2 separate regions of the Homo sapiens genome follow, and region 2 is linked to region 1. The links are contacts of gene promoters, found by promoter capture Hi-C in blood cells and fetal thymus (Javierre and others, 2016). All regions are on one chromosome and are shown on one strand. Each heading gives the region's core, a stretch centred on a gene start or on the middle of the fragment in contact. The rest is flanking DNA. Distances are from core to core; before and after follow the strand shown. Region 1 holds the start of SLC19A3 (solute carrier family 19 member 3). Region 2 overlaps COL4A4 (collagen type IV alpha 4 chain).

Region 1 (4,220 bases), core at 1,000-3,499:
GCATTAGCCACTGTGCCCAGTCAGAATAAATGATTTTAAAACAATTTTGTATTATGGAAAATAAACATATACAAAAATGGAAAATAGTGCAATCAGTTTCTAAGAACTACTGCCCAAGTCAACAATAATCAACACACAGCCAATCTTTTGTCATCTATGACCCCATCCACAGCCTTCTCCCCACACAGTCGTATGGGATCAAACTCAAATGTCATGTCATGTAATCTGCAAATGTGTCATTTATGTTTCTATGCATGAATGAATGAATTCCTCAATATCTCTCTCTGATTTAGACTGTGGCTATGAGATATTAGAGAATCAGAGTAAACTTCTCAAGGTCCAATTTGAACTCATTTTCTTCAAGAGGTGTGAAGGAAATCATGACACCTTCAGCCTTTAAGAAAATTTCACAATATTCTTTGGGAGGACCCAGCAATTTGCAAGGTTGCACAATGAGCAGGGCACTCCTACACCTAAGGTTCAGCTCAGGACTTTTCACAAATCATAGGAAGATGAAAATAGAAAACGCAGAGTCGTAGGACAGAGAACCAAGACACCTCGGGGTGTTTTAATCCATTTCACTTCCACTGGTAGCCCTTAGAAGCCACGCAGTGTTTATCTTTAGGGAGGGTTTTTCAAGTCCACCAAGAGATGAACAGAAATAAAAATATTTTTTCCATTTTAACCAATAAGAACCTTGTAATGCTTTAAAAAAATTCTCTGTTTAATAAGAAGTTTCACTTTAATATATAAACTCTTTGCAGGCTAAGCGTAGTGGCTCATGCCTGTAATCCCAACACTTTGGGCGGGCAAGGCAGGAGGATCCTTTGAGCCCAGGAGTTCAAGACCAGCCTGGGCAAGATAGTGAGACTCTGTCTCTACCAAAAAAAAAAAACAAAAAAATTAATGTGACGTGGTGGCACCCACCTGCAAGCCCAGCTACTTGGGAGGCTGAGGCAGGAGGATCAGTGTGCCTGGGAGATTGAGGTTGCAGTGAGCTGGGGTTGCACCACTGCACTCCAGCCTGGGAGATAAAGTGAGACTTTGTCAAAAAAAAAAAAAAAAGAAAGAAAGAAAGAGAAAAGAAAAGAAAAGAGGCCAGGTGGCCGGGTGCTGTGGCTCACACCTGTAATCCTAGCACTTTGGGAGGCCGAGGCGGGTGGATCACCTGAGGTCAGGAGTTTGAGACCAGCCTGGACAACATGGTGAAACCCCATCTCTACTAAAAATACAAAAATTAGCTGGGTGTGGTGACGGGCGCCTGTAATCCCAGCTACTAGGGAGGCTGAGGCAGAAGAATTGCTGGAACCCGGGAGGTGGAGGTTGCAGTGAGCCAAGATCGTGCCATTGCACTCCAGCCCGGGGCCAACAACAGCGAGGCTCCATCTCAAAAAAAAAAAGAAAGAAAGAAAGAAAGAAAAAAGACCAGGCGCGGTGGCTCACGCCTGTAATCTCAGCACTTTGAGAGGCCGAGGCAGGCGGATCACGAGGCCAGGAGTTCGAGATGAGCCTGGCCAATATGGTGAAACCAAACCCCGTCTCTACTAAAAACACAAAAATTAACTGGGCGTTAATTTTTGGAGGCTGAGGCAGGAGAATCGCTTGAACCCGGGAGGCGGAGGGTTGTAGTGAGCCGAGATCGCGCCACTGCACTCCATCCTGGGCGACAGAGGGAGACTCTGTCTCAAAAAAAAAAAAAAGAAAGAAAGAAAAGAGAAAAGAAAAGAAAAAGAAGAAGAAAAGAAAAAATTGTTTGTATCAGATTTTCAAAGTGCCAGGAAACCATCCCACTCTACCTCCTTTAAAAAAAAAAAGTGCAGAGTGATTATAACCACTGGCTCTGGAGCCAGGAGCCCCAACTAAAACCCAGGCTTCTCTATTTACTAGGCCTACTTCCTTCCGCCTCACTTTCTTCATGTGTAGAGTGGGGGTGACAGCCAGCCAGCCCTCTCTCCTAAGCTTTTGGAGAGAAATAAATGGATTCATAAGAAAGGACATATTTGTAAATAAAGCAAACGATCGCTGTTGGATTCAGGCCCTCTTGCTTCATTATGCTGAATGTCAGTGTATTACTTAAGTTGTTCCTTTCAGCAGAGTTGACTGTTTCTGCCCAGAAAACCGGCCCTGGGCCAGGAAAATCTGGGCTTCCACACTGGGATGAAAGGTCTGGACGCCCGGATTCGCATATGCAAAGCGTGGGGGCGTGGCCCCGGGCTCCGGGCCAGGCAGGCTCCGCCCCCTTCCCACCAAGAGCGCCTGGATCCATCCGACAGCCGCGGGTGCGTGGTCGTGCGGCAAGTGAGCGATTTGGTGAACAGACACTCCCTTCTGTAGGTAAGAATATCTCGGGGGGCGAATTAATTGAAGAAGCACCGTCATCCCTCGGTCTTAGCAGTGTCGCCTCTCTCTTCCCGGGTTTGGAGAGCTGGGGGCGGGTTCCTGGCTCTGCGGGCCTGGGCTACACTCTGAGCCGCGTGAGGAGCTCTCCCCCTACGCCGCAGCCCGCGTGCTGGGATTCACCCAAGTGGGTTTGTCTGGAATTCCCATTTGCAGCCTTCTGGAAGCGCAGATTAAATAAAATCATGATTCCCGTAAAGTGCCAGCACCTCCTATGGTTACATCCCACGTTCACAGATTTTAACTGAAAAGGCATTTTAGCATAGAATTCCAAATTCCAATCCAAGGATGGAGAAAAGGTCCTTCCTAGTGGGAAAAAGGAAGGTGAGTTTGAATTTAAGAGAGCAGGGGCTTTTTTGGGAACCACTTGAAATTTAGTTAATTGAAACTAAAAGAAAACGCAACTACACCTTACAAAAACACTGCTGGAAAGGATACCTAAGTCATCAAATAATAAATAGTGTGACAGCTGTTTACCAAATCAATGTCGCTGCCGCAAATGTGCAAAAGGTTGGGACTTTCGGAGTGCTTCAAGTTTGAAAAAGGTAAAGGAATAATGTTTTCTAAAAGTACTCTCAGGCCAGGCGCAGTGGCTCACGCCTGTAATCCCAGCACTTTGGGAGGCTGAGCGGGGCGGATTGCTTGAGGTCAGGAATTCGAGACCAGCTTGGCCCTGGGATGAAACCCCGTCTCTACTAAAAAGGCAAAAATTAGCCGGGCATGGTGGCGGGTGCCTGTAATCCCAGCTACACTGGAGGCTGAGGCTGAAGAATGGCTTGAACTTGGGAGGCGAAGGTTGCAGTGAGCCAAGATTGCACCACTGCACTCCAGCCTGGGCGACCCAGCAAGATTCTGCCTCAAAAAAAAAAAAAAAAAAAAAAAAAAAGCACTCTCATGTGTTTTGCTCCTATCAATATTGAAACATTGGTGTCTCCTGTGGCAAAAGGTGTTTTTTTCATCGAGGCACATATATTAAATAGACCAAAACATAACTTCCCAAATATCTTATAAGATTATCCTAGTAGTAGCTGAAATGGACAAAAATACCAATTTCCTTCAGTCATTATTGCTAATAGACCAACAACACTCTTTTAAGGTTGTGTAATGGTAAATGCATACACATTTATTTAACATGCACACAGGGAGAATCAGAGTGATTGATTACCCACCCTGCAACATGTCTCAGAAGCTTATAGACTACCCTGGCAAATGAGGTTACGGGAGGGAGCCGAAGAGCATCCAGCAGAAGTGGATGGGCTTCTGCTAGGGAGCATGAATGGGTCAGGGGAGAGAATAAGCTACATTATCTTGTGAATGGGTCTGTTCAGGTGTGGGGTATATTCTTGGTCTTACAGGGAAGGGAAAAGAAACAGTTGTTCCTTTTGGTGGGTCTGGATCTTAGGCAGACAAAGGTTTTTTTGAGCTGGGAGCCGGGAAGGTCAGAGAGACCTTGAGGTCTCCAGCATGTCAAAGCCCCATATTTTGGGGTATCGGCTTCTGAGTCCCGGCACTTATTAGTGACGAAACTGATGAGTCTGTAGTAGCCAGATCAAAGAAGAACCCAAAGAATGGGTACATTCGTAGATCAGGAATATTGAATAATGAAATATAGATCAGGAATATTGAAACTGGTTTTCCATGGGGGAAAGGAAGACTGTTGTCCTTCATGGGATAAACCTTATTTGCATGTCTATAGACAATAATTACTTAACATTGCCATCAGTTGTTAAAATTTACAGAGTTGTAAAATAGCTCAAATGACCTCTAATTTTTCTTTAATCCAGTTTTTTCCCTACAACACCACCTTCTCTCAGTGCATTTAA
Region 2 (3,933 bases), core at 1,130-3,629, 580 kb after region 1:
CAAAGTCCTGGGATTACAGGCATGAGCCACTGTGTGAAGCCGGTCTTGAGCCACTTTCATAATATAATTTTAAAAGTGAAGCTTCAAGAAAACAAAGTCCTTAGCTTTTTTGTGTAAATGTGCACATTATATAGAAAAAAAGCCTGGCTTTTCTGTGAGGTTATTAATGTAAATATACCAAGATTGTACAAATGCAAAAAGGAAAAAAAACCTCAGTGCCTCTAAATTTTATGACTTTGAGCTTCAGGACCAAGATAAATAGATTTGATCAGCCCTGTGGCAAGAAAGAGATGAGCCGACCCCAAAACAAAGAGGACCAGTTGCTTTGATAAAGGCACCTCAGTGGGTCTCCCAATGTGAATGAGGCTGAGAGTTGTTTTAGCAGAAAAGGGGATGCTACTGGTTTCCAGCAAGTAGAGACCAGAAGTGCTGTTCAACATCTTACAATGCACAGGACAGTCCCCACACCAAAGAATTATCCATCCCAAATGCCAACTGTGCCAAGATTGAGAAGCCCTGTTCTAATCTCACCTCTGCTCTGTGATGCAAGTATTATTATTTCCACCCTTCAGAGCAAGGAAACTAAATTCCCAACAGTTCTAAATAACTTGCTAGGATGCAGGAGAACCAGGAATCACACCCACGTGTCTGGCTTCAAACCCAGCATTTGCTCCATGATCGTGGAAAGATCATTACACGAAGGTACCAACTGCTGGGTTGTAGCATCACTTTGTAAACTTGGGTTGCCACTTGACTCTGACCAAGCCTGGGTTTCCTTGCACGTACCCCCATTGGTCCTTCTCTTCTATGTCCTTGGGCTGTTAAACAAGCGCAAGGCATTGCATGTGTAGATGGTGTACTTTCCACCCTCTAAGCAGTCTCTGGATAGGGAAGGCTCCCAGTCCTGAGCGGCACTCTGCTGTGTGTGTCTTTGTGTCTGCGTGGTCAAGGAGAGCTGTGTGTGCCACAACAGGGAGCCTGTGGTCTTCCTGAGATGAATGGGTTTTCCATGGGAAGGCTGCAAGTCGTTGTGACATCTTCCAGCGAGGATTTGGGAGTGTGACTTGTGCGTAACAGAAGGTGGTTTGGGAAAGTAGCACTGTCAAGTCCTCAGCAGCCGGCCAACCTTCTGAGCTGCAGTGACAGCTCACGGGGGACTATCAGAATAGGAACACACCAAATTCCTAAGGCTTGAGGGATCTGCCTGAGGCTGCACAGCCTTCAAGTGGCATAGCGGGCTATTCCTAAGAAGGAAAGTGTTCCTCTCTTACAGGTTAATGCCCGTAGTAGCAGTAGGTAGTAGTAGGTAGTAGTTTCATCAAACCCCACATCAAAACTGCTATGTCTAAAGCAATCGTTGACAGGCAAGGCTGGTTCTGTGCTGAGGAACGGCCATGGTTCGCAATTTAACTGGAGAGGAGAGCTAGAGTTAGAGGTGGAGATGGAACAATCTAAGGTGGAGAATCAAGGGGGGCCTCCTTTGATGTCTACAGAATGAAGTCCAGCCCCATCACTGTACTGCTGGAGGCTCACAGTCTAGCCCCAGCATGAGTTTTCATCTGTAATCCCCATTACTGCCCCTTTGACCCTCTCCAGCTGCAGCAGTTGGGCCACTCATTCACTCTTGAAGATAATCTGAATATTTCCACTTCTCTGCCCTTTTCTGAGTGCCTTCCAACTTGCACTCTGCCTCTGTCTTTCCTGTTCTTCTCAAAGGAGCTCAGTGGAGATGCCAAACCACAAGGCCTTTCTGCTCATCACAGTCAGTGTCGATGTCTCCCTGCCAGAGCCCCCTAGCAAGCTGCTTACCTGCTTCTCTTTTGCTGTACTTGTCCTGCCCTGCTCTGTAGCTCTGGCTGGATTTGAGAGTGAATGTGCCCGACTTTATTGATTAGATTGCAAGCATACACTTCTTGAAGGTGGTCATGAGAACACAAGTAAAACGTTGATCCTGATTCCTGACCCACTGTGGACACCCTTGAAATATAGTTTGCCTACCTTCACTTCTCCCCTTTGTAAACTGGGGGTCATTTTTTGTACTTTGAGATTATCACAGTAGATAGCACACAACAGGCAGTTAATACACATAAATTAAGAAACTAAAATTCAGGGGCCAGGCATGGTGGTTCACGCCTGTAATCCTAGCACCCTGGGAGGCTGAGGTGGGTGGATCACCTGAGGTCAGGAATTCCAGACCAGCCTGGCCAACATGGTGAAACCCCACCTCTACTAAAAATACAAAAAATTAGCCAGGCATGGTGGCGGGCGCCTGTAATCCCAGCTACCTGGAAGGCTGAGGCAGGAGAATTGCTTGAACCCATGAGGCGGAGGTTACAGTGAGCTGAGATTTCGCCATGGCACTTCAGCCTGGGTGACAAGAGTAAAACTCTGTCTCAAAAGAAAAAAAAAAATAGATTCCAGCCTGGACAGGATTTGGGAGCTGAGCTGGTGGTCAGGCCAGCATGCAGGGACTCTGTAGGGGGATCTCCCATACCCAAGAGAAGAGGGGGACAGAATTAGTGGGGAGCCTCTTCCCCAACCCTAGACTTTCTCCCCACACACTAGCATTTAAGCCTGTTAGGAAATGAGTAATCTCACATAGTTCAAATTCCCTTGTGAATTTCAGGTAGGGTCAGAAATAAGCACTTTGAGCAGCAGCAACAAATAAGAGGGTTGCAGCTCTTGGACCTTTTAAGGTACAATGGCACCCTAAGAGCTCCAGGCTGAGGGGAGGAGACTGGAGCTTACCTCCTTGATCTTTTTCGGGTTCAGAGCCCTCACCTGGGATGTGAGAATTTGTCCTAGAGGGGGCTGGTTGGTCCCCTCGGCTCTAGCAGCCCATGGTTCTGTGATATGGGGCGTGGGTTTTCACATATGACAGCTATTTACTTGGTTTCCCAAATGACTTGTGACCAGGCCCTAACATTTCCATGAACCTCACTATGGCCCATCTTTAAGGGTGTGAATGAGGTATATCAGGCAGGATTTTCTATTATTCCTTATCAGTTTCAAGGGAGGAAGCTCTCTGTGTTTACTGGTGGGCTCCTTGCAGGGAAAATTACATGTCCTTACAAATTAGAATGAGGACCTTTTATAAGTTATACTTTAGTAACAAGGATGATAATAAAGACACTGTCCACAGTTTTTTCCCCATATTGTTTTCTATTCAAGGGAGTATAACAATTGCAAAATTAACAAAACCTTATGATGTGGTGGTTTTACAAACACGGAGGTCAAATGACGTAAATGTCAAGAATTGTCTTAGTCTTTTTGGTTTGAAAACCAAAATCAAACGTGAGTGAGTCATTCTTTCTTCGGAGAATTTCAAATCACTAAAAAACTGCAAGTATTTTCCCTGCGATCTCATTCACTCATCCCTTATACTCCTAAGAGCTTGCATTCCATGATAAAAATGGAATTTACTTGGGAAAGTTTAATTACTGTTAACATTTTTCATTTCATTGAATTACTTGCACTCAAAGTTCTAGAACTCAGTCTCACTATCACTCACACAGCTGTGTTTTAGGACATTTTCTACCTGTAGCCTGATACATGGTTCAGAACAATAATTTTTATGTCCCCAAAGTTCACTTAAGTCAATTGTGTTCCATTTTGATGTAAACAAGTTCCAGTGACAATTAGAAGTTGGCAAAGGTGGTCTTTCAACCCCTGAGCTTGTTGGGTTTGCTTTTTTGTTCTTCTTGCTATATCTTCCTCCTCCAAGAACTCTCTGGCTCATTTTGTTACTACTGGAGAATTCCCTGGTAAATGAAGTCCCTGTCAGAGATGGCAGACTCAGATGTCCTTGGGGAACAGCTGGTGACCTGAATGTAGTAATGGGGAGAGGAGGTGCTCAGGATGGGGCTACTAGGAGCTGGACGGTGCATTTGTCATTTAAAGGCATCAGAATTCAGAATTTTTAAAAAACCCAGT

What was found. Contacts are between HindIII fragments. The CHiCAGO score rates a contact against its expected background, and 5 or more counts as called.
Region 2: a fragment that was not itself captured here is called in contact with the fragment with the promoter of SLC19A3 in region 1 in 1 of 17 cell types (naive CD8 T cells); the score reaches 5.7 in naive CD8 T cells.

What each region holds. Positions count from the first base shown.
Region 1 is chr2:227,716,057-227,720,276 of GRCh38, reverse strand. SLC19A3 (solute carrier family 19 member 3) reads left to right here and starts at 2,249. Exons shown (of 6, transcript NM_025243.4): 1 at 2,249-2,334. RefSeq lists an enhancer at 1,832-2,718. The HindIII fragment of the contact is 1,627 bases long and covers 1,962-3,588 here.
Region 2 is chr2:227,134,122-227,138,054 of GRCh38, reverse strand. All of the region lies in intron 4 of COL4A4 (collagen type IV alpha 4 chain), which reads left to right. Among named protein-coding and RNA genes, the nearest start is that of COL4A4, 28 kb to the left of the region's middle. The HindIII fragment of the contact is 4,592 bases long and covers 84-3,933 here.